7 separate regions of the Homo sapiens genome follow, and regions 2, 3, 4, 5, 6 and 7 are each linked to region 1. Evidence: promoter capture Hi-C in 16 types of primary human blood cells and fetal thymus (Javierre and others, 2016). All regions are on one chromosome and are shown on one strand. Each heading gives the region's core, a stretch centred on a gene start or on the middle of the fragment in contact. The rest is flanking DNA. Distances are from core to core; before and after follow the strand shown.

Evidence for each region. The method cuts DNA at HindIII sites, captures the fragments that hold promoters and counts their contacts. A CHiCAGO score of 5 or more calls a contact.
Region 2: a contact is called between a fragment that was not itself captured here and the fragment with the promoter of MIS18BP1 in region 1, in 8 of 17 cell types (total B cells, total CD8 T cells, non-activated CD4 T cells and 5 more). The highest score is 7.2, in total B cells.
Region 3: a contact is called between a fragment that was not itself captured here and the fragment with the promoter of MIS18BP1 in region 1, in 11 of 17 cell types (naive CD8 T cells, total CD4 T cells, non-activated CD4 T cells and 8 more). The highest score is 15.4, in naive CD8 T cells.
Region 4: a contact is called between a fragment that was not itself captured here and the fragment with the promoter of MIS18BP1 in region 1, in 2 of 17 cell types (total CD4 T cells and naive CD8 T cells). The highest score is 14.5, in total CD4 T cells.
Region 5: a fragment that was not itself captured here is called in contact with the fragment with the promoter of MIS18BP1 in region 1 in 7 of 17 cell types (naive CD8 T cells, total CD4 T cells, activated CD4 T cells and 4 more); the score reaches 18.7 in naive CD8 T cells.
Region 6: a fragment that was not itself captured here is called in contact with the fragment with the promoter of MIS18BP1 in region 1 in 7 of 17 cell types (naive CD8 T cells, total CD4 T cells, neutrophils and 4 more); the score reaches 10.1 in naive CD8 T cells.
Region 7: a contact is called between a fragment that was not itself captured here and the fragment with the promoter of MIS18BP1 in region 1, in 7 of 17 cell types (naive CD8 T cells, total CD4 T cells, activated CD4 T cells and 4 more). The highest score is 14.0, in naive CD8 T cells.

The regions. Positions count from the first base shown.
Region 1 is chr14:45,250,894-45,255,210 of GRCh38, forward strand. MIS18BP1 (MIS18 binding protein 1) reads right to left here and starts at 2,309. Exons shown (of 17, transcript NM_018353.5): 1 at 2,142-2,309. It overlaps LOC107984674 (a long non-coding RNA gene), which reads left to right and starts at 2,398. Exons shown (of 4, transcript XR_001750746.2): 1 at 2,398-2,748. RefSeq lists enhancers at 2,278-2,337, 2,438-2,617, 2,527-3,476, 2,638-2,827, 2,898-2,957 and 1 more. The HindIII fragment of the contact is 13,340 bases long and covers 1-4,317 here.
Region 2 is chr14:39,037,268-39,041,584 of GRCh38, forward strand. It overlaps SEC23A (SEC23 homolog A, COPII component), which reads right to left. Exons shown (of 20, transcript NM_006364.4): 18 at 3,465-3,620; 19 at 1,764-1,829. Among named protein-coding and RNA genes, the nearest start is that of SEC23A-AS1, 64 kb to the right of the region's middle. The HindIII fragment of the contact is 1,685 bases long and covers 2,226-3,910 here.
Region 3 is chr14:39,120,328-39,124,644 of GRCh38, forward strand. GEMIN2 (gem nuclear organelle associated protein 2) reads left to right here. Exons shown (of 10, transcript NM_003616.3): 5 at 2,103-2,216. Among named protein-coding and RNA genes, the nearest start is that of GEMIN2, 8.2 kb to the left of the region's middle. The HindIII fragment of the contact is 5,325 bases long and covers 1-4,317 here.
Region 4 is chr14:39,391,616-39,395,932 of GRCh38, forward strand. No RefSeq gene overlaps it. Among named protein-coding and RNA genes, the nearest start is that of FBXO33, 39 kb to the right of the region's middle. The HindIII fragment of the contact is 1,460 bases long and covers 1,809-3,268 here.
Region 5 is chr14:39,450,520-39,454,836 of GRCh38, forward strand. The region is part of intron 1 of LOC105370461 (a long non-coding RNA gene); the gene reads left to right. Among named protein-coding and RNA genes, the nearest start is that of FBXO33, 20 kb to the left of the region's middle. The HindIII fragment of the contact is 2,490 bases long and covers 1,254-3,743 here.
Region 6 is chr14:39,470,381-39,474,697 of GRCh38, forward strand. LOC105370461 (a long non-coding RNA gene) reads left to right here. Exons shown (of 8, transcript XR_007064121.1): 2 at 1-20. Among named protein-coding and RNA genes, the nearest start is that of FBXO33, 40 kb to the left of the region's middle. The HindIII fragment of the contact is 3,159 bases long and covers 790-3,948 here.
Region 7 is chr14:39,486,935-39,491,251 of GRCh38, forward strand. The region is part of intron 2 of LOC105370461 (a long non-coding RNA gene); the gene reads left to right. The region is part of intron 2 of LOC105370460 (a long non-coding RNA gene); the gene reads left to right. All of the region lies in intron 2 of LOC112267899 (a long non-coding RNA gene), which reads left to right. Among named protein-coding and RNA genes, the nearest start is that of FBXO33, 57 kb to the left of the region's middle. The HindIII fragment of the contact is 623 bases long and covers 1,931-2,553 here.

The DNA.
Region 1 (4,317 bases), core at 1,059-3,558:
GGGCGTGGTGACACGCGCCTGTATTCCCAGCTACTTGGGAGGCTGAGGCAGGAGAATGGAGTGAACCCGGGAGGCGGAGCTTGCAGTGAGCCGACATCGCGCCACTGCACTCCAGCATGGGCGAGACATCAAGACTCTGCCTCAAAAAAAAAAAAAAAAAAAAAGGGCTGGCCATAAGCATTTATAGTACAGTCATGCACTGCATAATGACATCAAACCACATACACAGTGGTCCCATAAGATTATTTTGGTGTACCTTTTTTTTAAACTTATTTTTACTGTACCTTTTCTATATTTTGGTATGTTTAGATACACAAATACTTATCATTGTGTTACAACTGCCAACAGTATTCAGTAAAGTAACATGCTGTACAGGTTTGAAGCCCAGAATAGGTTATAATATATAGCCTGGGTTTTTATAAGTACACTCTATGATATTGGCACAATGACAAAAATTACCTGAGAATGTATTTCTCAGAACGTATCCCAGTCAGTTACAAGTGACATATATAAATACAGAACTGAAGCTAAACAATTATGTATATGATCCTGAATGTAACTACTCCTCCTCCTCCTCCCAAAAAACATGGAAAGTTCTTGTAAGAATTTACTGTAGTGGTAGTAGTAATAACTATTACTATGGAATGGGTCAAAAATCCCAGAGCACACTAACCAAAACTGGGACATAGAATTAGGGGGAAAATAGAATTTTAAGTTAACAGGCAAATGATACACTTGAAAAAAATACTCAGCACATATGACAAAGGGCTAATTTAAATAACATTCAAAGAGACCTAATAAATCAACTTTAAAAAATATACAAAACAGAAAATGGTCATGGGACATGAAAGGTGATTAATAGAATACAAAAGGCCAATAAACGAGTTGTGACACCTGATTTTACTAATAAATGGAGATGCAAACTAAAACAGTGAGATTTCTTTTTCATATCACATTGGTAAATATTAATTTCAAAATGCAAGTATGCATACTATTGACACGGAAATTCCACTTCTAACTTGTTTTTTCCTATAGAAACATCTGCGTAAGAATGCAAATATATATGTACCATAATTGCCGATATTTACTGAATATTTACATGCCAGCCACTATATAATCTAACAGCAACTCTAAAGAGTTAAGTACTGTTATTACTCCCAATTTGAAAAAAGAGAAATTAAGGTATAAGGTGGTTAAGTAAGCTGCCCAAGGTCACTTGACAATAAGTGAGAAAGAGGAACCGATTCTACCCGACTCCATAGCTTCAGTTATTTACCAACAGGCAACAGTCTACACACCCACTACACAGGGAAGTTCACTGCAGCATAAAATGAAATGAAACAACCCAGATGTCTACCAATAAAGGACAAAATAAATCCCGCCACATCCATACAATTTACTCTATGTATTCAATAAAAAGATATATATGTACTTATATGGAAAAGTATCCAAGAAACATTAAATTGAAAAAGAAAGTAACAACATAGAATTGCATTTGTTTAAAAAAATTTTTAAGTAAATAAATAAAACACATACAGGCATAGAGAAAAACTCTGGAAGCGGTGAACCAAATTGTAAACAGTGTTTATCTTTGAAGGCCAGGATGAAGTGGCCTACCATTTTCTTGAACTCCTGAGCTCAAAAGATCCACCCGCCTCGGCCTCCCAAAGTGTGGGATCACAGGCGTGTGCCACCGCGCCCGACCATTTTCTAAATAATTTTATTAACATCTAAAGATGTTTGCAACAAGCATGCAATTTAACCAGAAGAAAACATAAGCTGAATGATCAACTGCTTCTATAGCCCTGTGGGTCCTGGGGTCCCAAGGGGAAGAGTTGGGTACTGAGGAATACAATTTTCCCACTTGGTATTCTAAAAAAAAAAAAAAAAAATTTATTTTAGAACAAAGACCTAGAACGCTCACCATCGAAATAAATTTGAGCAATCGTGTTCTACTCTCTTAAGTACAGTAGACACGCAACAAGTAAACATCGAGTGCGAAGTATAAAATCCGTACCAAAGCCAGAAATCTACAAAAAAAATAAATAAAACCGCGTGAGCCGAGATGCTTAAAGGGCAGACGCCCACCATCTGCGGGGACCCGCGGTAGGAGGTTAGCGGAGGGCGCGGGGAGGACGTACCTTGGATGAAGAGCCTGGCAGGGAGAGACTGCCGCAGTTCCGGCTCGGCTCCGCGCGGAGAGAGGGCCGCACGCCGCCGGGCTCGCGCCTCAGGCCCACGGTGTATCCTGCCCGCGGCGGCCAGGCGCCAAGCGACGCTTACCTCCTCCGCGACGTTCTCTAACACACAAAACACTTCCGCAATTCAAATTTGAAGAGCCCGCCCTCCAGCCAGCCCGGGATTGGCACGCTCGGGAATTGCGCCACCGTGCGTCTCACAGGGACGCAAGAAAACTGCAGGCGGCCTCTGCACTCCGTGGACGGCAGTGTGTCCACAAAAAGTAGGCGACCCTAAGCTGTCACAGGCAGGGGGCGAGCTCCTCTAGTTGTCTTCAAAGTTCGTTTCGTCTTCGTAGGGCACGCGCCCACCCTGAATCCCGCCTTTCCTCTCGTGAAGCTCTGCCGGGACAAGGCTGACGTGGGACGACGTGGGACGCCGTGGGCCGCGAGCACGCCCCGGCACTACTGCGGCTAAGTTTGGCCTTTCCTGGTTGCCGTCCTCCCCTACAGGCTGTGCGCCGTAGCGGCTGTTATCCTTCTTTTCCGTCTCAGGAAAACAGCGTGCTTGGTGGGTTTGAGAGAACTTCTGTTTTTCTGTCCTCCATGTTTGAGGCGGAGAAAGAACATTTTGTTCTTGAGGTGATGATGGATTGAATGTAAAGTTACGCACAAAGTGGGATGTTTAGTTGGAACTGTTCCCTCAGGAAATACGATTTTTTGGGCGTGGGGGACAGGGTTTCGCTCTGTCGCCTAGGCCTGAGTGCAGTGGCGCAATAACGGCTCACTGCAGTCTGGAACTCCAAGGGATCTTCCCACCTCAGCCTCCGAGTAGCTGGAACTACAGGCGCGCGCGACCATGCTTGGCTTATTTTTATTTTGTAGAGAGGAGGTCTCACCATGTTGCCCAGCCTAGTCTGGAACTCCTGGGTTCAAGCGATCCTCCATCTCGGCCTCCCAAAGTGCCAGGATTACAGGCAACCGCACCGAGCCAGGAAGTGATTAATTTTTTTTTAAGTCACTTCACATTCCAGAAACATTAATCTCGACAACTCTAGGTTGCTGTAAGCAGCTTGTGACGGTGGCCCCCAGACTGCGTCCCGCTTTAGACTGCACCCAGTGAATCTCCACTCTAACCACCGCGGAGTGACCGGGTGTATTCTTCGCCTTGTATAGGGCACATTGGTTCAGTCTTGAAAGTAGAGAAGGGGAAGCCAGGGTAGTAAGGTGTGTTCTCAGCCCTGAACCCTGTCCAACTCCAGTCCTGCATGAAGTCTGTCCTCTTCCCCCCATCCGCATTTGTGACAACAGAGCTTCTTTTTATTTTATACTTCCATCTAAGAAAATTAGTCAACTTCTAGTCACATACCACATTTCCCCATTAAGAGGCTTTACTGAAAAGGTGGTAATTTTTTTTTAAAGTGACTTTTGCAGTCCCTTCTAAATCCTGCATGTACTAAATTTTGTACACACTGAATAATCAAAATCCAAAATATAAATTTAAAACATCCACGTGAATGCAAATAAGGAAAAACAGTTGGAGGTAGGGGGAAAGGAAGCAAACTTACCTGGATAAAATGAAGTTTCTTTCTTGTACACCATAATGAGAAAATGGTTGGACATGGATTTGCACTACTTTTTTGGGAAAAACCCACCTTAAAACAGGTTAAATGGCATGTATGAAATATACTTTGATAGAGGAAGTTTGAAGGGATGGTCATTCAGATTTTAAAGCACCTGAAATTGAGGTATAGGACGTTTCTGTGCCTGATGAAGATGGCCGTGGCTCACACATTTAGACAAAATAGGAACCCTGAAGTATTAACAGCAGGCACTCAGAAATGCACACTTTTTTTAAATTAGCCACTTCTCATGTAAGAAGGAAGTAGTATGTAGTATGTCCCAATGTGAATGGCCACAGGAATTTACATAAGATGACTAGTAATTTTCCAAGCAAAATTGGATTAAACAGTTTGTGGATAAGAAAGTGTGATGAGAAAGCCTAGAGGCCAAGGGACAGTACCTCTGTCCCTTAAATGGCAACATGCTGTAACCGCCCAAGGGGTTCACCTTGCGTGCTGCCTAGACAGAGCTGATTGATCAATACAAGTAAATTGCAATGGAGAAAGAGTAATTGACG
Region 2 (4,317 bases), core at 1,818-4,317, 6.2 Mb before region 1:
AAGGCCTTCTAGATAGTACCTCAAACTCAGTGTCTAAACCAAACAATTTCTCTCCACTCTCCCATTTATTGACATATGTTTTCCTAGTCACTCAGGCTTAAAACCCCAAAATACCCTGTTTCCCCTCACCTGTTTTTTAAAAATTCAAGACTACATTAAAGTTGAGAGAGAAGTACAATAAACACCCATATAGCATACCTACATTCACTGACTGTTAACATTTTGCCACGTATGCTTTATGTTTCTACATTATTTTTCCTTTTTTCTTCTTTTTGTTGAATAACTTCTGGAAGTTGAAGCCATCATGACATTTTATTCCTAAATACTTCAGGATGTATCTCCTAAGATCAAGAAGAATCTCCTACATAACCACACCATTATCACTCTCAAGAAATTTAATAATTCTGTACTAGTTATCTGATATATGATCTATATTCAAATCTCACAAATTATCCCAATTATGTTCTTTATAGCTATTCTCTCCCTTTAATCCAGGATTCAATCAGAATTCAGATTTTGTGCATAGTTGCCATGCCCTGGAATAATTACTTTCCTGCAACTTCTAATCAAGTCCTATTGAGTCTACTTTTAAAATATCTCCCAAATCTATTCCTTTCACCATCTTGCCTTTACTCCCTCTCACTTGGATTATTTTCGTAAATATACTTTCAACCTACAGACTGCTTCCATTTAATCTTAAGATTCAACTATACTAAGACTCAAATCTGCCCTCTGTCCACCTTCAATGACTCTCCATTACTTACCAAATAAATACTCAACTTCTCACTCCTCAACCTGACATTCAAGATCCTCCACAATTTACTTGTACAACACATTTCCGTTTTATGTTCTTCTAGTCAGCTCTGCATGTAGTCTTTTATCTTAGCCCATACTATTCTCTACCTAGATTTCCCTTCCTCATGCAATTTCCAATTACTGAAATAACCATTCTTTAAATGAAATGTTTCTTTTTTCTGAGCTCTTTTCTGATTACACACCCTCTTCCTGCTACCACTATGTGACCTCTTGCCATCTTCCTCTTCTAACCTTTGTAATACTTCATAGCTTTCTAAGGACAAATATCCCATTCTGCCTTGTAATTTACTTAGGTATGTATTTTATCTCTAATATTAGACTACAAGCTCTCCAAAGGCATGGGTAATAACTGCACCCTAAAGAGCCAATACAAAGTCCTAAACATACTGGACACTCAATAAATGTTGATATGTTATACCAAGAGGTTAACACTTTTTTTTTTTAAGAGATGGAGTCTTGCTATGTTGCCCAGGCTGGTCTCAAACTCCTGGCCTCAAGTGATCCTCCTGCCTCAGCCTCTTGAGCAGCTGGGATTACAGGCATGAGCCACCACACCCAGCAGGACTTTTACCAAATTAAACTATATCAATAATGATTTGCAGGGTTCCTGCCCCTCCTTCTCAACTATGATCCCTGGCCTCTCTTGGCTTATCGTGGCCTTTTGTGGTTCACAACCTAGCATTAAACTGGAGTCACCACTTCCTGTCTTACACACTTCATTGCTTTTTGTCTCAAGGGTATAGTGCTAAACTTGGAGTCTATTTGATAGGATCACTTTTGTCCTATGGTGTCGCCAAATATTAATTCTGTTTTCTACTCTCATTTTTACATTACTTTTCCAACAGAAACCATTACTAAATACACAGGAAAAAAATGTAGCTTTCACTAAAATAATAAACAATAAATACACAAAGAAATAATTTCCAAGACCTGCTATTTAAACTTACCTGCCCCCAGGCATACATATTATTATGAGTCTGTGAAGGGTTGACTTTTGAAAGGAGGAAACGGGCCTTAAAAGCAAAGAAGAAATAACATTATCCATCAAAAATGGTTTCAGTCAATATCAGCTGAATAATTATATCATGCAAAATCAATTTTATTTAGTATGTGTTGGTAAAATTAATTTTATTAACTTAATTTTTAAAAGATTAAACTTTGAAATGTATAGGTCACTAAGTGTTACAAATAAATAATAAATGCACCTCTTCTCTCCAAATCATACATCCAAAATAACAAATACATTGTTGAGTCCAAAACTCAGCATATAAAAATTATGTGTGCAACAATTATGACAAGGTTGGTGTGAAATTACTAAACACTTGGTCAGAAGTTCAAAATCCCAAATAATGATAAAAACAAAAGCCATGAAAATCTGTATGTTCTTTTGCTTAAAATAATGACCCTTAAGCTTTCTTAAACCACAGGTGATTCTATGAGACAAGTGATCCAACATTTTATCCTTCTACCCACTATGGCTTATCATCATGAAAATAATAACCAGAATAAAAGAGGAAAATGGTAATACACACAGTGAGACATCAATGAAAGAACCAGTAAGATTTTTAACTCATAATGGAAGCACATAGACAGTAACATCTTTTGAAATTTAGTATCATACAAAATCTTTTTCTACTCTCTAAGGAATCAGTTTAACCTAACAGTGAAGAGCACTGGCCCTGGAGTACCAGGACTCAAATCCCACTCCTGTATTTACTGTGTTCCCTTGGCCATAAGTAACCTAGATCTCAGTTTTATTATCTGTTAAATGAAAATAACACTAGAATTCTTATGAGGATCAAATGAGATAAGGCATGCAGAAGTACTTTGCAAATTCTCAATATGAAATAACTCTCATATAAATACAGTAAAACTAATAGTAATTATCATTTCTGAATAACAGTTACTGATATTTGCTACCTATTTTATAATACCGTACTAGGCACTAGGGAATACAAAGCATAGTCCCTGCCTTCAAAGAGCATGTAAAACAAATTAATAACAACTTATAATTAATTTATTATAACTCTTATAAGAATTACAAAAGAGAAGTAAGAAGTATTTTATGAGAGTATGTTAAGGAACCTAACTTAGCCTTCTGAAGGTCTCAAAGCAACTGTGTATGTATGTATATGTATCTAACGTATATGTATCCTCAAAATCCTAAAAGCCACAAAACCTTTTCATAATACTACAGTGTTTTCCTATTACATAAAATTTTATTTTCTAGAAAATTGGAATGATAGAATGAAGACAATGAAAAAATGTAAGTTACCACAAATGTCATATTCATAGACTTTAACAGTAAATAAACGGCTTTAAGAAAAGTATATTACTTTCCAAGCTGTTCACATTTTCTTGTTCAACCAAAGCTAGTATACCACCACAATGCCATCCTGGCCCTGTTCAGGAAGCTAGGCTAGAGACAGAAGATGATGGAAAGTGCCAGGTTTAGGCAACTAGTCAATAATCTTACTGTTTTGCTCTCAAAAGCTAATGCAAAAAGTAAGCACTGATACCTTCCCCACCTATCTCCTTACCTTTCTGTCTGCTTTATGAAGCAATCTATTAAAATCAGAAGGCAAGCAGGTACACCTCACTGCAAACCTAACAACAAACAAACACACAAACAAATTAACACTACTTACCTGGCTGCCTCCATGTTCAGTGTCAATGTATCTTGGCATTGGAAATCTGGAGTGAAGAATTTCCTGTGCATCATCCACTGGGGCTTGCAGAAGGTGGCGGAAATTTTCATACTCAGGCATATCCTGGTATCCTGACTTCCGCCACTGTGCTATGGTCTAATTTTAAAACAATTAAAGAAATTACTTTAAATTTCTTGCCCATCCAAAAATCTTGAGATTTTTCCAAAGAAAATAATCTTTAGAAACTAAAAAAATTATAGACCATTATTCCATTTACCTCAATTTTTTAAAAGTTACAATTTCAGTAGAGAAAATATTCTTAATAAATATAAAATTAGAATATTTCTTCTCCTTTAAAAGTAAAATGAAAGAATACTTACATAAGTCAGAAAATTTTTAAAACACTATGCTTATCAAATGAATGTTAGCTAAAAGCTATCTACCTAAGCTTATGATACGTGAAAGCAATTGAATCAATCCATAGGTAAGTAGCTCTAAACACCATGTAATTAAATCATCTAAAAACTTATGCCTGGTTTATTTTCTAAGTTAGCTGAATCAGTCAACACATTCTTTTATAGCTTTATACCTCTGTATAAAACAATCATGTGCATTTCTGATTTCTCCTTTAACAAGCTACTTGAAAAAGTAAAAATCACCATAAAACAAAGAAAAAGCAAAAAAAAAAAAAAAAAAAAAAAAAGCCCTGTCAGTATTACAGGTTTTTTTTTTTTTTTTAACAAAGGCAAGAAGTTAAAACAGGTATTATTCTTAACAAGTAAAGGGCATTAGAAACTGGTATCAATTAAAAATAATTTACAATAATAATAATTAAATCTTTTAAAACTCCTGG
Region 3 (4,317 bases), core at 705-3,204, 6.1 Mb before region 1:
CAGGAGTTCGAGACCAGCCTGGGCAACATGGCAAAACCCTGTCTCTATTTAAATTATTTAAAAAATAAAGTACACTGTGATGGCAACTGTGTGAAAACATAAACATTTGTTTATTAATTGATCCAATAATTTAAGCATGTGCTATATTTAATAATCAGGATATTCAGTACTAACTGAAACAGAAACAGCTTCTGACCTAATAGAGTGTTAGGAAAAGGTAGATAACCTTATTCCAAGACAATAGGGTTTAACTTTGTAGTGGTCTCATGTTCATCGTGAGGTTTTATTTTATTTTATTTTATTTTATTTATTTTTTTGAGATGGAGTTTTGCTCTTGTTGCCCAGTCTGGAGTGCAGTGGCACAATCTTGGCTCACTGCAACCTCTGTCTCTTGGATTCAAGCAATTCTCCTGCCTCAGCCTCCCAAGTAGCTGGGATTACAGGTGCCTGCCACCACACCCAGCTAATTTTTGTATTTTTAGTAGAGACGGGGTTTCACCATATTTCCAGGCTAGTCTCGAACTCCTGACCTCAGGTGATTCATCCTAAGGATTTAATGAAAGCTACTTATCCCTAGGGGGAAAATGCACCTATGCAAAGTAATATACAAGGTGATATGTACAAACAAAGGTTATTTTGTTAAGGAGGTTATATTGAGCTGAATGCTTCTCCCAAATAGTCCTGCGTCCTGCTTTTTCTGTCTGGCAGCATGAGTAGATCTGTTTCTTCTTTGACTGGACAACCCTTCAAATATGTGAAATATGTAATCATGTCTCTTTACATGGGATAAATATCCTTCATTCTATTAAGTGTTCTTGGTGCATTTTTTCCCCCATACTTATTTCTGTCTTTATCATCCTCTTTTGGACACACCATTGTCTGTCAGTGTCCACTAAAGTCTTGTCCAAACTAAACACATCTTGGCTGGGCACAGTGGCTCACACTTGTAATCCCAGCACTTTGGGAAGCCAAAGCAGAAGAATTGCTTGAGGCCAGGAGTTTGAGACCAGCCTGGGCAACATAGTGAGACAACTATCTCTACAAAAAAAATTTAAAAATTATCAGGCATGGTGGCACATGCCTGTAGTCCCAGCTACTCAAGAGGCTGAGGTGGCAGAATTATTTGAGCCCGAGATTCAGGCTGCAATGAACTGTAATCACACCTCTGCACTCCAACTTGGGCGACAGAGCAAGACCCTGTCTCAAAAAATGTAATAATAAGGAAAAACAACATGTCCCACATATTGTGTAGCCACTTAGGCACTATGTTTGTCAGGGCTGCCATAACAGACTAGGTGGATTAAACAACAGAAATGTATTTATTTTCTCAGTCTTGAAGGCTGAAAGTCAAAGAACAAGGTGGCAGCAAGGTTGGTCTCTTTTTGTTTGTTTGTTTGTTTTTTGAGGCAGAGTTTCGCTCTTGTTGCCCAGGCTAGAGTGCAATGACGCAATCTCTGCTCACTGCAGCCTCCGCCTCCCAGGCTCGAGTGATTCTCCTGCCTCAGCCTCTGGGTAGCTGGGATTACAGGTGTGCACCACCACATCCGGCTAATTTTTTTTTTTTTTGTATTTTTAGTAGAGGTGGGGTTTTGCCATGTTGGCCAGGCTGGTCTTGAACTCCTGACTTCATGTGATCGCCTGCCTCGGCCTCCCAAAGTGCTGGGATTACAGGCGTGAACCACCGCACCCGGCCTAAGGTTGGTCTCTTCTGAGGCTTTTCTCCTTGGCTTGCATAGGGCCACCTTCTCCCTGTTTTCTCACGTGGTCTTTCCTCTGTGTGTGGGAGTCCCTGGTGTCTCTTTGTGAATCCAAATTTCCTCTTATAAGGACACTAGTAAGATTGGATTACGGCTCACCCTAATGGCCTCAATTTAAATTAATCACTTCTTTAAAGGCCCTGTCTCCAAATACAGTCACATTCTGAGGTACTGGAGTTTAAGGTTTTAACATACAAATTTGGGGGCAGAGATTCTCCCCATAACTGGCTCCGTATCTTTGGGTTGCGGTAATGGGAATATGGAAGGACTTAACTTCTTTTTTTTTACTGTTCAGTGTAAAAATTAATACACAGGAATAAATCAGTTTTTTTTTTTTTCTTTTAGCCAAAATCTGAAGATGAAGAAGGCTGGAAGAAATTTTGTCTGGGTGAAAAGTTATGTGCTGACGGGGCTGTTGGACCAGCCACAAATGAAAGTCCTGGAATAGATTATGTACAAGTAAGGGCTGTGTGGATAAACAGAACAAAAAGCATTTTAATTTTGGTGCACCACTTAATATAAGGGGTCAGCAAACTCTACCCTGGGCCAAGTCCAGTTCATGGCCTTTTTTATATCCATGAGCTAAGGATTGTTTTTAGGTTTTGAAAGAGTAAAAAAGAAACAAATAATATGTGGCTGAGACTTTATGTGGCCTGCAAAGCCTAAAATATTTGCTGTCTGACTCTTGATAGAAAATGTTTGCCAACCCAGACTTAGTTTATTAGCTCTTCAACCTAACAAAACAGCTTAGTTTCTGAAACAATTTACTGTGACTTTTTTTAGTTTGGCTTCATATCCCTTATGTTTGGCTTGGTAATCATTTTATGAGTTGGATAAGATTCATAGTTTTTTTAAATGATGAGGCATCAGGCAAACAGTGTTATGAGTAGCCAGGGAAAAAATGGAAATCGACACAATTAGATGCTTTAAAATGCATAATCACATCTATCACTTCATGGGCCTGTAAAAAATAAATCACATATTCTAAAGATGAAATGTTGAGGATATCTTTAAAATTCATGTGGCTGTAATCATAAGTTATGTAGACAACTCCTTGTCCTTCAGGATTTACCTGCCCCCAAGTTTGCAGGTGTTCCTTGAGAATCCAGTGCATGCCTCTGCATTAGCGCTTACTCCCTATAGCATGTAGTTCTTTTCAGTTCAACAGGTATTTATTATTTGCTATATGGTGCCACATTGTGTTTTTCACATTTAAAACTAATTTTTCCTAAAAATGTAAAAAGCCCCAAGAATCAATAAAAAGACCAAGAATCACCCCTCCCCTGCCCAAGAAAAAATAGCCAAAGGATATAGATACCTCACAGAAAGGAAATAAAATTATTCTTATATGACAAGATGCCAAAAATCACTTGTAATAGAAGTATAACATAACTATGCCAAGGTGCTATTTTTCAGGTAACATATTGGCCAAGAAAGTTTGATACACCATATTGACAAGAGCTGGGGAAACAAGCACTCTTAGACGTGGTACAGGAGTATAAATAGACTCAAATCTTAGGGAAGTTAATTTGGTACTCTTTCTATATAACCAATTGATCTTTTGGATGATATCCTTAACATATGCTACATTTCAAAAATAGCTATATATATATATATATATATATTTTTTTTTTTTTTTTTTTTTTTTTTTTTTGAGACAGGGTCTTCTTCCGTCATCCAGGCTGGAGTGCAGTAGTGCACTCATAGCTCATTACAGCTTCAACCTCCTGGGCTCAAGCAATCCTCCCACGTCAGCCTTCAACATACCAGGGGCAGCAGGCACCCACCACCACACCCAGCTAATTTTTAAATTTTTTGTAGCGATAAGTTTTTTAATTTTTTAAAAAAATTTTTTTGTAGAGAGAAGTTTTCACCATGTTGCAAGGTTGGCCTGAAACTCCTGGGCTCAGGCAATCCTCCTGCTGGGATTATAGGCATGAGCTATCATGGCTAGCCAAAAATGGTTTTTAATTTATAAAGAATTAAAACTTACTTATTTAGCTTATTTTCAGAGAATACATACAAGTAAAATACACCATGTTAAAAAAAACCCTTAAGGAAGTAAGCGTTTAATGTATATCCTCTTAAGTTTCTCACAAATCAGTGGTATTTTCATAATTAGCAATCACAGCCTCAGACTCCAAAGTAGACTTTTAAAAATTGAATCAAATTAGGTTTTAAAAATGTCATTCTAATTCAAGTGTCCTTAATTCTTGAAAATATTAGCTTTAGCTGAAGATTTTGAAATGGTGTATACAACATATTAATGTCATCTTATCAATGTTACAGTTTTATTGGATATACTTAATAAGTTAGTTTTTTCAAGTACTATCATGTAAAAAATTTTTAGTCTTTAACATTTTACTTACTAAAATCATACTTTATTTAAAAATTTACAAATTCAGACCAGGTGAGGTGGCTCATGCCTGTAATCACAGCACTTTGGGAGGCTCTGGCAGGTAGATCACTTGAGCTCAGGAGTTCCAGACCAACCTGGGCAACATGGCAAAACCTCATCTCTACCAAAAATACAAAAAAATTAGCTGGGCGTGTTGACATG
Region 4 (4,317 bases), core at 1,289-3,788, 5.9 Mb before region 1:
GATTGATACCATCCTGGCCAACATGTTGAAAGCCCGTCTGTACTAAAAATAAAAAAATTAGCTGGGTGTGGTGGCGCGTGCCTGTAATCCCAGCTACTCTGGAGGCTGAGGAACGAGAATCACTTGAACCCGGGAGGTGGAGGTTGCAGTGAGCTGAGATCGTGCCACTGTAGTCTAGCCTGGCGACAGAGTGAGACTGTCTCAAAAAAAAATAAAAAACTAAAACTAAAACCACTTGAAAATCTTTAATAATGTCATCTCAGTTGAGTAGTTCTTAAGCTTTCAGAAATAATTACAACTATAGTGCAGTGCCTATTCTAATTTTAGAGCTATCTTGTCTAACAATTGGCTCATCACATACCAACTATGTATTCTTTTTTTTTTTTTTTTTGAGACGGAGTCTCGCTCTGTCGCCAGGCTGGTGGCAGTGCCACGATCTTGGCTCACTGCAACCTCTGCCTCCCGGGTTCAACCGATTCTCCTGCCTCAGCCTCCCGAGTAGCTGGGGCTACAGGCTTGTGCCACCATGCCCAGCTAATTTTTCTATTTTTAGTAGAGATGGGGGTTTCACCATGTTGACCAGGATGGTCTCGATCTCTTGACCTTGTGATCCGCCCGCCTCAGCCTCCCAAAGTGCTGAGATTACAGGCATGAGCCACTGCACCTGGCCAATTATGTATTATTAAAAATTAGAATAAAATTATACGCATAGATTAGGTTATATAGTACACACACACACTTTGTATGTTAGATGTGTTAGGCATAAATTCATACACCTACATGATGATTATTCTGTTGCTTTGTGATTCCATAGATTTGGTGATACTGATAAATATACCAAGGGCAGTTAATGCACTTCAAGAAATACAGCAAGAATACTGGTACATGGAGAATATGGATGGAGCTTTAATATCTGTAAATTTTACAAACTAAGTGGAAAAATAGAATTATCTACCTAATAGTAAGGTAATCGTAGTCTTTAGGATCAGCAGGATAAAAGTCATGTAATGTAGGAGTTCTATCTTCTGGGTTTAAATTCTACCCAAACTCTTACTGGTTTTACAACTTAGACACAATTGTTAATTTTTCTATGCCTATTTCCTTATATGTGAAATGAAATGATATCTACTCCAGGGTTGCTGTGAGAATTAAATGACAAAATACTTGTTTGTCAAATGCTCAAAACAGTGCTTTGCACACAGTAAATATTTAATACATATAAGTTATGGTATTTCTTAGTCTATTTATCAACATTGTTTCTCAGAGAATTTACTTAAGTGATTTTTTTTTTTTTTTTGCAGTGGTGCGATCTCGGCTCACTGCAACCTCCCCCTGCTGGGTTCAAGCTTCTCCTGCCTCATCCTCCTGAGTAGCTGGGATTACAGTTGCCCGCCACCACGCCCGACTAATTTTTGTACTTTTAGTAGAGATGAGGTTTTGCCATGTTGGCCAGGCTGGCCTCCAACTCCTGACCTCAGGTGATCCGCCTGCCTCGGCCTCCCAAAGTGCTGGGATTATAGGCTGAGCCACCACGCCCGGCCTTAAGTGTGTATTTTTTAGCTAAAGGCTAGTCTTTTAAATATATAGTATTATTTTAGCCATCTTCAGTAGAAATATTTCCAAAATGTATTAAATGCTCCATTAATTTATGCCAATATTCTGAACACAGTGTAATTTTCATATTGATTCAAGTTCATTACAAATACTTACCATTGCCCTGTAGTTCAGGTTTGTTATAGGGGTGTTGAAGTCTGTTTCAAACTCCAAAATGGCCTAAGACTGATTATGCTCTTGCTTTCACATGTGTAAGCTTGCATGCCTTTCACAGTCACCCCCTTCCTTTCCCTTTCTAACCCACTGTAGACTGAGAAACCTGATGAACAGGTTTATTAGAATTATGCTGAAAATAAGACAAAGTGAGCTAGCAGGAATTGGAAATGGCTCTTCTGAGTGTGACACCTTTACCCATTAGTCAGGGACTAATCCAGCTCCACGAGTCTTTTATACTTATTTCTGGATCCTTGGCTACACTTCAAATAGCTGAGGTTGTTGGATATAATGTCCACATTAAATAAGTATTAATCTAATGACAATAGTGCTTTAAACTGAAATATGGTAGAGTCAATTACAGTGCCATTTTGCAGCTTTACTGAGGTGTGATTGGCAAAACTTGCATATATTTAAGGTACACAATGTGTTTTCATATATATATATACTGAAATGATTACAATACTCAAGCTAATTAAAATATCCATCACTTCACATAGTTACCATTTTTGGTGTGGTGAGAACACCTGAGATCTACTCTCTTAGCAAATTTCAAATATACATTATTAACAGTAGTCACCATACTGTATATTAAATCTCCAGAATTTTATAATTGAAAGTTTGTACCCTTTGACCAGTATCTCCCCTTTTCCCCCACACAGTGACATATTTTGAAAAATCTATTCAGAACTTTCCTACAAACAACTAGGTCTTAAGCTCTCAGTAGATCTTTGAGCCTCTTTCAAGTTACTGTGATTCAGTAATGCATGAAAGGATAGAAAGCAATACTCTGTCCTCCTGCCTTGGTCACTGCTATGGTTTGAATGTGTCCCCTCCAAAATTCACAGTTTAGTCCCCAATACAACAGAGTTGGAAAGTGGGGTCTTATGGGAGAAGTTTATTTAGGTCATGAGGGCTTCACCCTCATGAATGTATTATTGCCCTTATAAAAAGTGCTTACAAAAGTAGATTAGCTCTCTTTCTGCCATGTGAGATTACACTGTTGCTTCGGAGGATGTTGCATTCAAGGTGCCATCTTGGAGGTGGAGATAGGGCCCTTACCTGACACCAAACCTGTTGGTGTCTTTATCTTGGGCCTCCCAGCCTCCAGAACTGTGAGAAATCAATTATTAATATTCTTTCTAAATTACCCAGTTTCAGATCTTCTGTAATAGCACAAAATGGACTACAACAGTTGACTTTAGACTCAGCATTATGAAACAAGTCAGTCCATGAACATTCATTTGTTTGTAACTTGGATCAGTAAATTACAAATTATTTTTTAAAATAGGAAATAACAAAATAATATAATGAATGCCCCATTACAGATAAAATTACCTTCATGCCCATCCACACTGATCCTTGTCCTCATGCCTGCCTCATAGGTAAGCACTCTTGTGAAGAGGGTGTGAATGTTTTTTGTTTTTCATTATGAGAGAGTATATATTGAAGGATTCATTCAGAGCTAAAAGGCAAATAAACTGATAACTGACAATATACAAGCTTAAGGAGGAAAATGAATGACAAAATTTCTAGTGATCAAGAGTGAGTGAATTGCATTTTAAAAACAGTTGGTAAGTAGGCTGGGTGCAGTAGCTCATGCGTGTAATGCCAGCACTTTGGGAGGCCAAGGTGGGAGGATCGCATGAGGTCAGGAGTTCAAGACCAGCCTGGCCAACATGATGAAACCCCAACTCTACTAAAAAAAATACAAAAATTAGCTGGGCTTGGTGGCATAGGCCTGTAGTCCCAGCTACTTGGTAGGCCCAGGAGATGGAAGGTGCAGTGAGCTGAGATCGCACCACTGCACTCCAGCCTGGGTGACAGAGTGAGACTCTGTCCAAAAAAAAAAAAAAAAAAAAAAGATGGTAAGTACTAAATTACTATAGCATTTAGATTCCATTATACATATTTTAAGAAGTCATGTATGTAATTTACTTTAAACTGCTGATGTTTATATCTGCTAAGATTATGACCAATGTTACATGTTTAACTTAAAAATATGCAAAGGGGTACATTTTTAGGGGCTAGGAAAACAAGTTAGAAAACATGGGATTAGAGAATACATCTAAAAGTGAAAAATCTGGGTTACAGGGCACAGGCAACTTCAACTTTACAAGATATTGCAAGTTTGCTTTCCAAAATGGATATATCAGTTCAAGTTCCACCTGTGTTTCCTCTTCCTTGCCAACACATGGTATATCTTGCCCTTTTAAAAAAATCTTTCAGAAAGGATGATTCAAGTATCCTGAAAACTTACTCATAATACATCATCCGTTTCTTTCCACAACCAGCAAACCAAATTAATTAGTATACTGTACCAGGGGTGATACCCTGCAAGGACACCTAATGAGTCCTGGGGTGGCTGGAGCCTGGGTTGGTTGCCTTCTGATGCTTTCAGGCTCTTCTGAGCAGTGGGAGTGGAGCTGATTCTGAAAGTAGGCCCTGGACAGAGAGCAAACTCAGATACTCACTATTCCTAGCCAGATGAGTCACTGTCCATCACAGAAAAGGGTGGGGGGGGGGGGGGGGGGGGGCGTCTACAAAGCT
Region 5 (4,317 bases), core at 1,249-3,748, 5.8 Mb before region 1:
TCAAGGTCAAATGGGGTATCTTATCTTCCACTCCCTAAAATTAAAAAAAATGTAGCATTTTAATTTTATTGATAATTAGATGATGACTTTCTTCTGTATCTCCCCTCTCCCACAGAATTTGGAATTGCTTTTTTTTTTACTGACAAAAGAATAAGTTATTTTAATCATATTCTCAAAATTATCTGACTTCTCTGTCACACTTGGTTGTAAGAACTCACTCTCTTCTCGGAGACAGTCCTTTTATGATCCATGGAAGAAAAAATTGATTAATTGGACTTACCAAAACTGAAGACTTTTGCTCTACAAAAGATTCTGTTGAGAGAATGAAAACACAGGTTATATCTGGGAGAAAACATTTTCAAATCACATATCTCTTAAAGAATGGATATCCAAAATATAAGAAAAAAATTAAGGAAACAGCCACTTGTAAAAAAATGGACAAATGATCTGAACAACTGCTTCAAAAAGACTTATGGATGGCAAAAAAGACTTATGGATGGCAAATAACCATCTATAAAAAGATTCTCAACATTATTTGTCATTAAGGAAATTGAAACAGCAAGATATTACTGACATACCTGTTAGATTGGTTAAGAGAAAAAAAAAACCTGACAATACTAAATGCTGGTTATCTCATACTTGCTACTTTGGAAGATGGTTTAGCAGTGTCTTATTAAAGTTAAACACAGACTTACCACATGACCCAGCAAAAGCACCTTTAGGTATTTACCAAATTGGTTTGAAAATGTAAATCCATACACGTGCTTTAATCATAGTTGTCAGCTTTGTTCATAATCATCAAAAACTAGAAGCAACCAAGAAGTTCTTCAGTAGGTGAATGCATAAACGGTGGTACATCCATGCAATGGGTTATTATTCAATGATAAGCAATTGATGCTACAACATGGATGCGTCTTAAATGCATTTTCCCAAGTTATTGAAGCCAGACTGAAAAGGCTACATCATATTGAATGATTCCATTCATATGGCATTCTAGAAAGGGCCAAATTTAAGACTGGAAAACCAATCAGTGGTTGCTAGGGATTTGAGGAAAGGGGAGTTTTCACTTGGGGGAAAGAATGGGGGAGTTGTAGAGTTAAAAGTAAACTGTAGTGGTGGACATATACTATGCATTTGAAAAAACTGATAGAACTTTATAGCATAAAGAGCTTAATATGTGCAAGTAAAAAAATCAATCAACCAAGAGTTAGGGATCCCGGAGGGGAATGCAATGGTGACAAAAGAACCTAACAAGCTTGTTTCAGATATGTGATATAACTTCACTAAAGGGATGGGGGAAAAGGTGCTGACCTGAATAATTTTTGGAAAACAGTGTTTTAACTAGAAACTGTAAGATTAAAGACAAAAGTGTACATAAATGCTGCAGCTGGTAAAGTTGTTTCTCACAGGGGTATTGGTTAGCAATTCTGAAACTGCTGTACGTGTATACTGGAAACTGACAAATAAGTAAATGTATTACCATACATTTGGTGATTGATGGGAGCCAAGTTTCTCACTATTGGAGAAGAAGGTTGCAGAAAAGCAAGAGGATAGAATGAACCATGTGGTACTGAATTAGATTTGGAGACACCAATATGAAATTATATTTAGTTTAATATAGATACTGCTGGGCTTTGTAGCAGGTGGCTAGTTTCATAGTGTGCGGTGTTCTCATTTTTCCCTCACCTTCACCCACCCAGACCACAACCCAAACACAATTGTCTTTATTTTTCTGCCTGTCTTTTTGCCAGTAGCGAAAATGTTATTTGTTCATGCCTGAGATAGGTTGTTAACACAAAATTCTAATGAACTAGTCCAAACGCTTAACTTTTGTAGCTGGAAGACCTTCAAACATTTTAAACAAAGAAAAAAATCTTGTTTTTTTCTTTTCCTTTTGGATAGCATAGAGAACTTTTTATTTTTTGTGAAGTAGAATGTGAGTCCTTTTGGGTATATTGGAATTTCTCTGGGGACAATTTTGAAAGAAACTACTGTATACATCAAAAGAACATAAGGATTTCTGTTGTCCAACTGTCTTCAAAATTTTACCTAAAGTGTTCCATTAAAAAAGGCTACTAAGTAGAACTACTAAAATGAATAATAAAAAATATAAAAATGAATAATGAAAAAATACAAAAAAAATAAAAAATAATTCAAAAATTTACCTAGAGTACCATTTAAAAAAGGCTCCTAAGTCGAGCTACTAAAATGAATAATAAAAAATGTAAATTTCAAAGTAGCCTAATGTAGCAAGTTGAGAAGTAGAGCTTTTCCCATTCCCTGTGATTTTGGGCTGAGGGCCCAGAGCTGAGAACAAAGCATATTAGTGCCTGGATTTCTAAAGAAAGGATGCTGCTCCATCTGTGTGAAACTAGCTATGGCCACAGTCATTGCCAGGGAAGCAGTTCTAGCCAGTTCCTTGCATATGGTGGCTCTGTGTAGTGCCATGTGACTTTGCCAGCTTGTTTATAGCTAATTGGTGATTGTTGGGTCAAGTGCTCTTTCACTCTAACTGTACCCAGGCCAGTGGCCTACCGGAAGATGCAATGAAGACATTGCCTACATAGAAGTGGCCATTTGCTGGTCAATTAGATATTTCTTTTTATTTTTCTTGTTTTTGAGACAGGGTCTCACTCTGTCACCCAGGCTGGAGTGCAGTAATGCCATCATGGCTCACTGCACCTTTGACTTCCTGGGCTTAAGCGATCCTCCTGCCTCAGCCTTCTCAGTAGCTGGGAATATATGTGTGCACCACCACACCTGGCTGATTTTTTTTTTTTTGAGATGAAGTTTCACTCTTGTTGCACAGGCTGGAGTGCAATGGCACGATCTCGATTCACCACAACCTCCGCCTCCTGGGTTCAAGCGATTCTCTTGCCTCAGCCTCCCAAGTAGCTGGGATTACAGGTGCCTGCCACCACACCTGGCTAATTTTTTTGTATTTTTAGTGGAGACCAGGTTTCACCATGTTGGCCAGGCTAGTGATCCACCCACCTTGGCCTCCCAAAGTGCTGGAATTACAGATGTGAGCCACCACGCCCGGCCCTGGCTGATTTTTTATTATTGTTTTTTGTTTTTGTTTTTGTTTTGTAGAGATGGTGTCCCACTATGTTTCCCAGGCTGGTCTCAAACTCCTGGGCTCAAGTGATCCTCTTGCCATGGCCTCCCAAAGTGGTGTGAGCTACTGCACCTGGCTGAATCTCCTTTCTGAGATTCTTTCTTTTAGTTTAGTTTTTTTTTTTCGTTTGTTTGTTTTTGAGACAGAGTCTTGCTCTGTCACCCAGTCTGAAGTGCAGTGGTGTGATCTCGGCTCACTGCAGCCTCTGCCTCCCAGGTTCAAGCGATTCTCCTGCCTGAGCCTCCCGAGTAGCTGGGATTACAGGTATGCGGCACCATGCCTGGCTAATTTTTGTATTTTTAGTAGAGATGGGGTTTTGCCATGTTGGCTAAACTGGTTTCAAACTCCTGCCCTCAAGTGATCCACCTGCCTCAGCCTCCCAAAAGTGCTGGGATTACAAGCATGAGCCACCATGCCTGGCTAGTTTTGGTTTGTTTTTAAACAGAAGTTACAGCAAGATAGGCCGTTGCTTATAAGAGCAAAACCCAGTAAAGCACAGATAAATAACTGAGTCATGTCAGTGTTGAAATATTGAAATAGAGCTCCATCAACTCCTTCTAGAGCTGCCTGAATCCAAATTAAAAATATTTTTTCATGCCATCAAGTTCTATTTAAATTTCATATAAGCTTGTTTTCAGGTATAAACAGTTTTTGGTATTGGGAATAGTGCTCTTCACTTGTCAGTTTATGGGAGACATTCTTTTTGTTTCTGTCCTCCATACATATCCACTTGAAATCCTTATCTGAAAGGCTACTGTTGTTACACCAGTGATTCTATTTGAAGCTTCCACTATAGTTCTTATCCACTTGAGCTATAAGGACTGACAGCATCTTCTATTGCCATCAGGACTCCTTTAGGCTCAGGGAATGTGGTTACATTTTGTATCTGTTAAGCAAAGGAAGGCTTTAAAATCGTAAAATTGTGTTTATTTTATAGAGTAAAATAGTGTTTATTTTACAGAGTAATAATCTTAGTGTTGTTCTCCATCCTATTTAAAAAGTGTCCCTGTCAAACAAAAACTTCACTTCTAAGGAGAAAACATGTGATAGGATGATTGACCAGAAGGTTCAAACTATTGAATTTTGGTGGGTTTGTAATAAAATGTTAATTTCTGGGTTATATAGAAATCTCATACGTTAAACTAGAGGAGAGGGGGAGAGGAGAAGAGGAGAGAGAGGAGGGAGAGAGAGAAGAGAAG
Region 6 (4,317 bases), core at 1,119-3,618, 5.8 Mb before region 1:
CCACTTCCCTGCATCAAGAGGTAAAATCCATTTCTATTCTCTTGAATTGAACAGCTTCAATGAATTGAGTGCTGAAGAATTAACACTCTGTGACTTCATGACTTGTTGGAAATTGTGAGGAATCTCAGGCCACATGGAGGGGCCAGTGAAGATGTTCCAGCTTATAGCCCCAGCTAAGGTTTCAACTAATAGCCAGACTCAACCACCAGGTATATGAATGAACCTTCAGATGATTCTAGTCTCCAGCCTTCAAGCTTCCCCAGTCGATGCTGAGTGGAGCAAAAAAAGGAATTATTCTCACTGAGCCCTGTCCAAATTGCAAATACCTGACAAAAATAAATATTGTTGTTTTAAGCCACTAAATTTTGGAGGAACTTGTTATGCAATCATAAAAACAGATTTTGTTATCTGGAAGTGAGTGCCATGTAACAGAAATCTAAAATGTGGTAGTGGCTGAAGCTAGACTAGACAGGATTAGGCAGGACTAGACAGAGGGCAGAAGGTGAGAGGGCCTTCAGGTGACTGTGGAAGGCTGATGGACCTCAAGGAGGCTATCAGAGAGGGTTTAGAGGAGAGTGAAAAAATATCATTGGAGCTGGAGGAAAGAGGATCATTGTTAGGTAATGACATGAAGTTTGGCCACCTTATCACCTGTGGTAATGTGAAAAGCAGAAAATGGTGATTGTCTGGCTTCTTCTTGCTGCTTATAGTAAAATGATAGGAGAGAGGTAAGCTAAAGAAATAATTGTTAAATATAAAGGAGCCAGAACTTCTTGGACTTGAAAATAAAGCTTTCTCTTTTCCAGTTTTTCCTGACGGCAGAGAATTCTAAAATTAAGAAGATTCTTTATGGAAGGAGAGCAAATCTAGGGTACTGTCATTAAAACATGGTTTATCATGAAGCCAAGGGAGTGATTGTAAAATCTTAGTTCTAATACCTCAGGAAATTTAATGTCATGCCTCACACAGACAGTAGTCTCTCTAATTATCTTAAGGACATGACATACCTTACAGATCCTCTTTATTAAAGAAAAAGTCCTTTGAGAATTTTAAGAGCATTGTCCCTCGGCACCCTTATAGGAAGCTCTAGGACTTATCTTGAAGAGATTTGTGGGTACAGGTTTTGTCTAATGGAGTGGATTATAAACAAGAAATCCACACAGTTTTTTGTTGCAAATTTTTTTTAGAGCAGTTTTAGTTTACACAAAATTAAGCTGAAAGTAGAAAGTTCCTATATTCTCCCCATTCCCCTCTCTCCCTAAAATTTCCCACACTATCAATATCCCTGACCAGAGTGGTACTTTTTTTTTTTTTTTTTTTTTTTTACCATCAATGAACCTACCTTGGTACATCATTCTCACCCAAAGTCAATAGTTGACATTAGGGTTCACTCTTGGTGTTGTATATTCTATTAATACACCAATATGTTTTGACAAATGTATAATGACACATATCCTTCATTATAGTATCATATAAGGTAGTTCCACTGCCCTCCAGATCCTCTGTGCTCTGCCTATTTATCCTTACCTTCATATCCATGACAACCACAAATCTTTTTACTAACTCTTACAGCTTTGCATTTTCCAAAATATCATGTAGTTCATGTGGTAATATACATTTGTTTCTTCCATGTCTTTTTGTGGCTTAACAGCTCGTTCCTTCTTAGCACTGAATAATATTCCAAACTCTGGATGTACCAGAGTTTGTTTATCTGTTCCTCTACTGGACAACCCTGGTTGTTCTCAGGGTTTGGCAATTATGAATGAAGCTGCCATAAACATCTACATGCAGGTTTTTGTGTAGACGTAAGTTTTCAACTCATTTGGGCATATACCAAGGAGCTTGCAATTACTGGATCATGTGGTAAGAGTGTGTTTAGTTGTGTAAGAAATTGCCAAACTGTCTTCCAAAGTGACTGTGCAATTTTGCATTTCCACCAGCAATGAATGACAGTTCCTGTTTCTCCACATCTTCACCATCATTTGGTCTTGGCAATGTGTTGGATTTTTGCCATTCTAATAGGTGTATAGTAGTATCTCATTGCTGTTTTAATTTGCAGTTTCCTAAGGACATGTGATATGGAACGTCTTTTCATATGCTTATTTTTCATTTGTATATCTTTAATGAGGTGTCTTCATATCTTTTGTCTGCTTTTTGACTGGGGAATTCATTTTCTTATTGTTGAATTTTAAGAATTCTTTGTATGGGATCTAATTAAACTAAAGAGCTTCTGCACAGCAAAAGAAACTACCATCAGAGTGAGCAGGCAACCTACAGAATGGGAGAAAATTTTTGCAATCTACTCATCTGACAAAGGCCTAATATCTAGAATCTACAAAGAACTCAAACAAATTTACAAGAAAAAAACTAACAACCCCATCAGCAAGTGGGCAAAGGATATGAACAGACACTTCTCAAAAGAAGACATTTATGCAGCCAACAAACACATGAAAAAATGCTCATAATCACTGGCCATCAGAGAAATGCAAATGAAAACCACGATGAGATACCATCTCACACCAGTTAGAATGGTGATCATTAAAAAGTCAGGAAACAACAGGTGCTGGAGAGGATGTGGAGAAATAGGAACACTTTTACACTGTTGGTGGGTCTGTAAACTGGTTCAACCATTGTGGAAGACAGTGTGGCAATTCCTCAGGGATCTAGAACTAGAAATACCATTTGACTCAGCTATCCCATTACTGGGTATATACCCAAAGGATTATAAATCATGCTGCTATAAAGATACATGCACACATATGTTTATGTGGCACTATTCACAATAGCAAAGACTTGGAACCAACCCAAATATCCAACAATGATAGACTGGATTAAGAAAATGTGGCACATATACACCATGGAATACTATGCAGCCATAAAAATGATGAGTTCATGTCCTTTGTAGGGACATGGATGAAGCTGGAAACCATCATTCTCAGCAAACTATCGCAAGGACCAAAAACCAACACCGCACGTTCTCACTCATAGGTGGGAACTGAACAATGAGAACACTTGGACACAGGAAGGGGAACATCACACACCGGGGCCTGTCGTGGGGTCGGAGGAGGGGGGAGGGAAAGCATTAGGAGATACACCTAATGTAAATGACGAGTTAATGGGTGCAGCACTCTAACATGGCACATGTATACATATGTAACAAACCTGCACGTTGTGCACATGTATCCTAAAACTTAAAATATAATAAAAAAGAAAGGAGATCAATGGTTGCCAGGGACTAGGGGGAAGGAAGAATGGGATTAACTGCATAATAGTTATAGAGTTTTATTTTGAGGTGATGAAAACATTTTAGAACTAGATAGAGATAGTGGTTGTACCATATTGTGAATGACTAATTGTAAATGTCACTTTATTGTTCACTTTAAATGATTACTTTTACATTGTGTAAATTTCAACTCAATTTTAAAAATTTAAAAATGGAACAAGGGAGAGGATTTAGAAGGTTCTAAATGCTAAAAGAAGTTAATGATAGAATTCAGGTAGTGCGTATACAGGTGTTCACTGAAATCTTTCAATTTTGCTGTATGTTTGAAATTTTTTATAATAAAAGTTCAGAGGGAAAAATGGAAAAAAAAAGAATTCTTTATATATTTAGGTAACAGTGCTTTATCAGATGTGTCTTTTGCATATACTTTTTCCAGTCAGTGGCTTTTCTTTTCTCTCTCTTGATCCACACAATTTTTTTAAAGGATTGTATCGTTTTATACTGAAAGGCATAGAGACAGTACAAAATGAAAAGATGCCTTTGACCCCAAACTTCTGCATATGGGAAGCATGCTAAGAACATGGCTATTTTTTATGAAAAAAAAATAATTTAGAGGGTAGAACCAATAGCCCAGAGTGGAGAGCCAAGAGTCACAGTGAATCATTCTTAAACAGTACAACTGAGCCCTAATCAAGTACCAGTACCTTTTGCCCAGCTTGATTTCAAGCTTTTAATGGACCAATGACTTCTGTGTCTCTCCTTTCCTCCTTTTTTTTGGGAGTGTCTATAGCAGTTATCCTGTACTTGCTCCACCATTGTGCATTTGGTGTTTGTTAAGGCAGATAATTTTTCTTTTTTAGTTTATAGCTCTTGAGATTACAAGGAACTGTACGTAAGGGGCTGTATTTGAGGAACTGTACCCAAGAAGTTCATCCATACCTGGACCTCAAGCCTCAGCCTGATGTTGTAGGTCTTGAGGGAGTGCATGAGTGTATTTTGCTGCTGTGGCTAGAGGGTGGACTGTGGTATTTTGCATTTTCCAAAACTGACCTCAGCAATATTTGTGGTCCCACATGCTCTTCTAAACTTTGTCA
Region 7 (4,317 bases), core at 992-3,491, 5.8 Mb before region 1:
CTCCATCATCATTGGTCTCTTATCGGGTGAAAAGGAGGGGAAGCATCAGGCTGTTGGTTGATATCAGTGGTGTAGTCTTTTGAAAGGGCTGGTTTCTGCTAAGCCCTTAGGGAAGAAAGGCTAATTATGGTTAGCAAGGTAGCGAGTATAACAACATGTGTCTGACCTCTCCATCCCATCAAGACTGAGAACTCAGTTTTCAAGATTTCTCTGGGGTTCCTTTGGCCAAGAAATGGTCTGTTTAATCAATTGAAGGGGCTTAGAATTTTATTTTTAGTTTACATTCTCTCCCATTTGGCCAAGACCTGCCAGACTTTTCTTTTGTCCCATATCATTGCTGGGGTGATGTGGCTACCTGCTGCAGGTCCATCCTGTCCCTCAGTGGGACCCTTGTGACAGAGGGACTTAGAGCCAAAAGACTTACAGCCAACTAAACATTTTATGCCAGATGAGAATGGAGGTGGGCAGGTAACCATCAACACTTAAAACCTTTTAAGCAACATAAGAGCCAAAAACCAAAGCCAAAAAGTAAGGTTATAAAAGTGACTTACCAGTTCTATGCACTGAGCTACTACAATCTTGGTGTTAGTTACAGACTTGTAGCCGTTAGCTATATAAAACATAAGCATTTTGCTAAAACCATTTTAAGCTAAGGAATTTAGAGATTTTGTTGTTCTGCAATGCCTTTTGCAATCTCTTAAGTAATTTATCTTAAGGTGGCTGAAAAATTTCTTATTATATCATTATTTGTGTGAACCCCGTAACTGGGAACAACTATACTGAGAAGGCTTTGTCACCAGGTGTCTTGATATTCTCTTAGTAATTCTCATTTACTTCTATGGAAAGCAGGAAATTCTTTATGGTTGGATGGATGGAAAGGGACCACAAGATGGCTCAGGAGGAAAAGTCTCTCAAAAATTTGCCAGCTCTTTAGGCAATCTGTGTGCCTGTCCTTGATTTGGAGAGTCTGAACTAATTCTGTCCCTCAAAACTGGCCCTTACAATCTCACACACCCACCTTTTCCCCCATAGTCTCTGGGCCTAGAGAGAGGGTGCATCTGTTGTTTCAGCAGCAAGGCAATGACAATGAAAAAAAGATTGGGTCCAATAAGATTGCAAATGAGGGACATTCACAGCCTTTGTAGAATCATCTCTGGTTTTTACAATATCATGATTCTGGTTTTCTCAGAAGAAGTAAAACAGTGAGAGATAAATAACATTAATAATTTGACAATCAAAAGAGAATGTGTATGTCAGAATGGAAAAAGGAACCTATTCTGTTAGGGAGACAACTAAAACCATCATGCAGAAATTAATTTTAATTGAGACAAAAGATTTAGGAAAAAGTTGCTCTGTAGGTTGGAGACACAAATTTTATTTTAGACCAGCAGACTATTAGAAATGCTGGTACAAAACTCAAGAAAGGAGTCAGAATTAAAGACAAACACATAGCTGTGTCATAATCCTACCCATTTTATAACTGAGAAATATGGGAGAAAAGATTGTTGTCGCCTCTCTAATATACCCATTATAATCTTCAACCTGCTGAGTACTGGGGGATTAGGATCATGGGGGAACAAACAGATAAACAACAGCTAACACAAGAAAATGGATTTAATCAGGTTTAAAGCTTAGTCTTATGTAAGAATTTAAACATTTCGTTTCAATAATGCTTAGTGTCTTGGAATAATTGCTCAGGGTCTCAGATAGCTTCTCTTCCTAAGACAACATCTAAGTATGTGGTGCTGGGGTGGCTTCTATGATGTTACAGCTTAAGGAAGGCAGGATTCCCAGATTTGCATATTATCCCAAGGCTCCTCTGGTTGCCATGGCGATGTCCTTTGTTTGCTGGCTGCTGCTGCTCTCTCTCAGCATTTGGATTGCTTCTCCCACAGTTTGGTCAGAGCCTAGTGATGCTGCTGGTTGACAAAGCTTCTGGTATTGGGGAGCCCTCTGGATATGAGCTGGAGTCAGCTCAGGCTGGGTGGCTCACTCTGAGCCTCCATCTTCACTTCCACACAGAAGTCTCACCTGGCAAGCTCCCTAGCAAGATACTCTAGGGCTGACATTTGCCCACCTTGGGAAAGCTAAACTCATAGGCTCAGGTGCAAAGTTATTTTGATACTTTCTTGGTTATTTGCCTTTTAATTTGTTTAGTATCTATCACTGGCCGCCCTCCTTCCTCTAACACATACACACACTAGAATATAAGCTCATGATAATGGGGATCTTGTAATTCTTGTTCATTGCTGAATAACAAGCTCCAGGAAAAGTACCTGTCACATCATTGGCTAATAATAGACCTCTGTTAAATCAATGAAAGGAGGAAGGACAAAAATAATAGATGAAATCCCTAAGGAAGAACATGTCAAGTGAGAACAAGATGAGGACTAAAGTGTTTAGTACATCTTCTACTTTCTATTTTAGAGGCAGAAGGCAAAAGAGGCTCTAGGGAAGGAAAGTGAGAACTATTCAAGAGAAGTGTGCAGAGGTTGGGAGTGTAAAATTGGGGCAAGCATGCATCAGTAGACAGAGGTGATCACTGTTGCATAAAGCTTCAGAAGTTGAGCAGGAGTAACGGAATTGGCAACTTGAAGGTTATTGGTAATTTCAGGGAAAGTGGTACCAAGACATGAACCTGGGAAATTCAGTTTCAAGGAATTGTGCCATAAAAGGGAGAAGAGAATTGCAGCAGGTGAAGTCTTTTATGAAGATTGAAGTGAAGGGAAGAAGAATTAGGATATGCCACCTGACTCTTCAGAGCAAAAGACTCACGGAGGATTTTTTTTTTTTTTTTTTTTTGCCTCCAAGACAGAAGAGACTTGGTGTATTGGTATGTAGGGAGGAACTGGTGGAGAGGAAAATGAGGAAGACTGAAGAAGAAGATGGTTTATGAATTTAGGTCTCAGAACTTGACTGGGAAGGGATGAGATCAGCCTTAGAAAGGAAGATAAGAAAATAAGAATGGATGGAAAATAGGAAATCTGAAGCAAGTGGGAGGAAAATAGAAGAATTCACATCCGATTTTGCTCAGTACAAGAGGTGTCCGGCTTATTGGCTAAGAATGTGTGTGTGCAGACCCCTGTGAAAATTGCATGGTGAAACAGGGCCATGTCACAAGGTGTGGCTCCTTACTGCCCACACTTCTTTGATCCTTTATTGACTCAAAGTGAGTGGCCATGCTCCCTGGAGGTTCCTTTAGAGAGAGTGCTTTAAAGAGAGTGCTTTAGACATTCTTGTTTAAATTCAGATAGGAGACTTGGTTAAGGTCTGAGTGTCTTCTCCCTATAGCGTAATCAGTTTCTAAAGAGAGGCCTGGGTGCCTTAAGGTTCCCTAGAATCAATATGAGGATCTCAAATCTCAGACTCAACCCTCTTCATGATTCTGGATTATGTAAGTGATATGAATAATTTCAGTACTACAAATCTCAGGTTTGTCCCTCAGCAATGCTGACTCATTATTAAATAAATAAAATTTATTTATGCTAAATTTTCCTTAGTTGATTCTCTTAAGAATATCTTGTTTTAGATTATCTCATGGTAATTAAGAGTTTATGAATTATATGCTAATGGGAAAATCTAACTTCACATATCTTCTTTATTCTGATTTCATCTATACGAATTTTGTAAAATGTAATATTGGGCAAGGTAAAAGCCACTCCATAGACAAGGAATTACATAATGTGTATATTTGGAATTGAAATGTTTATTTAAAATTTTTTATTAATAAAAGTTTATATAAAGTGATGTTTGCTTTGTTTATACTTTTTGATCATCAATCATTTATTCATTTATTATATATATATTTATTTTTATATATTATTATATATTTATTAATATTATATATTTATTATATATTTATTAGTCATCTATGTGCAGGTTCTGTTCCAGGTGCTAGGAATATAAATGCAGAAAAGATGTAGTCCCTGAATCTTAGGAGTTTATGGTCTAGTTATGGGAGACAGTATAATCAAGTAATCAACTAAGTACAATGGATAGTGTATGTGCCCAAAAAAGAGAGTTGTCAATTCTGGTTAAGAAGGATGGGAAACCTCTATAAAGGAAGGTTTTACTGTTGAAATGGTGTCTGAATTCTGAAGGGCTACAAGTTATCTTCATTAGATTACTATTAGAGGATAAAATTTCGCTGGCAAAGAACTCATCTTATGCAAATTTGTGTTCCCATACAAGGGAAGAATTTGTCAGTAAATAAAAGATAAAGGCTTCCAAAGAATCACGAAGTTTAAAATTATAATAAAAGGTTTTTTTTTAACCAATACCAGTAGGTGGCAGTGTAACCTCATTAAAAAAAGACCG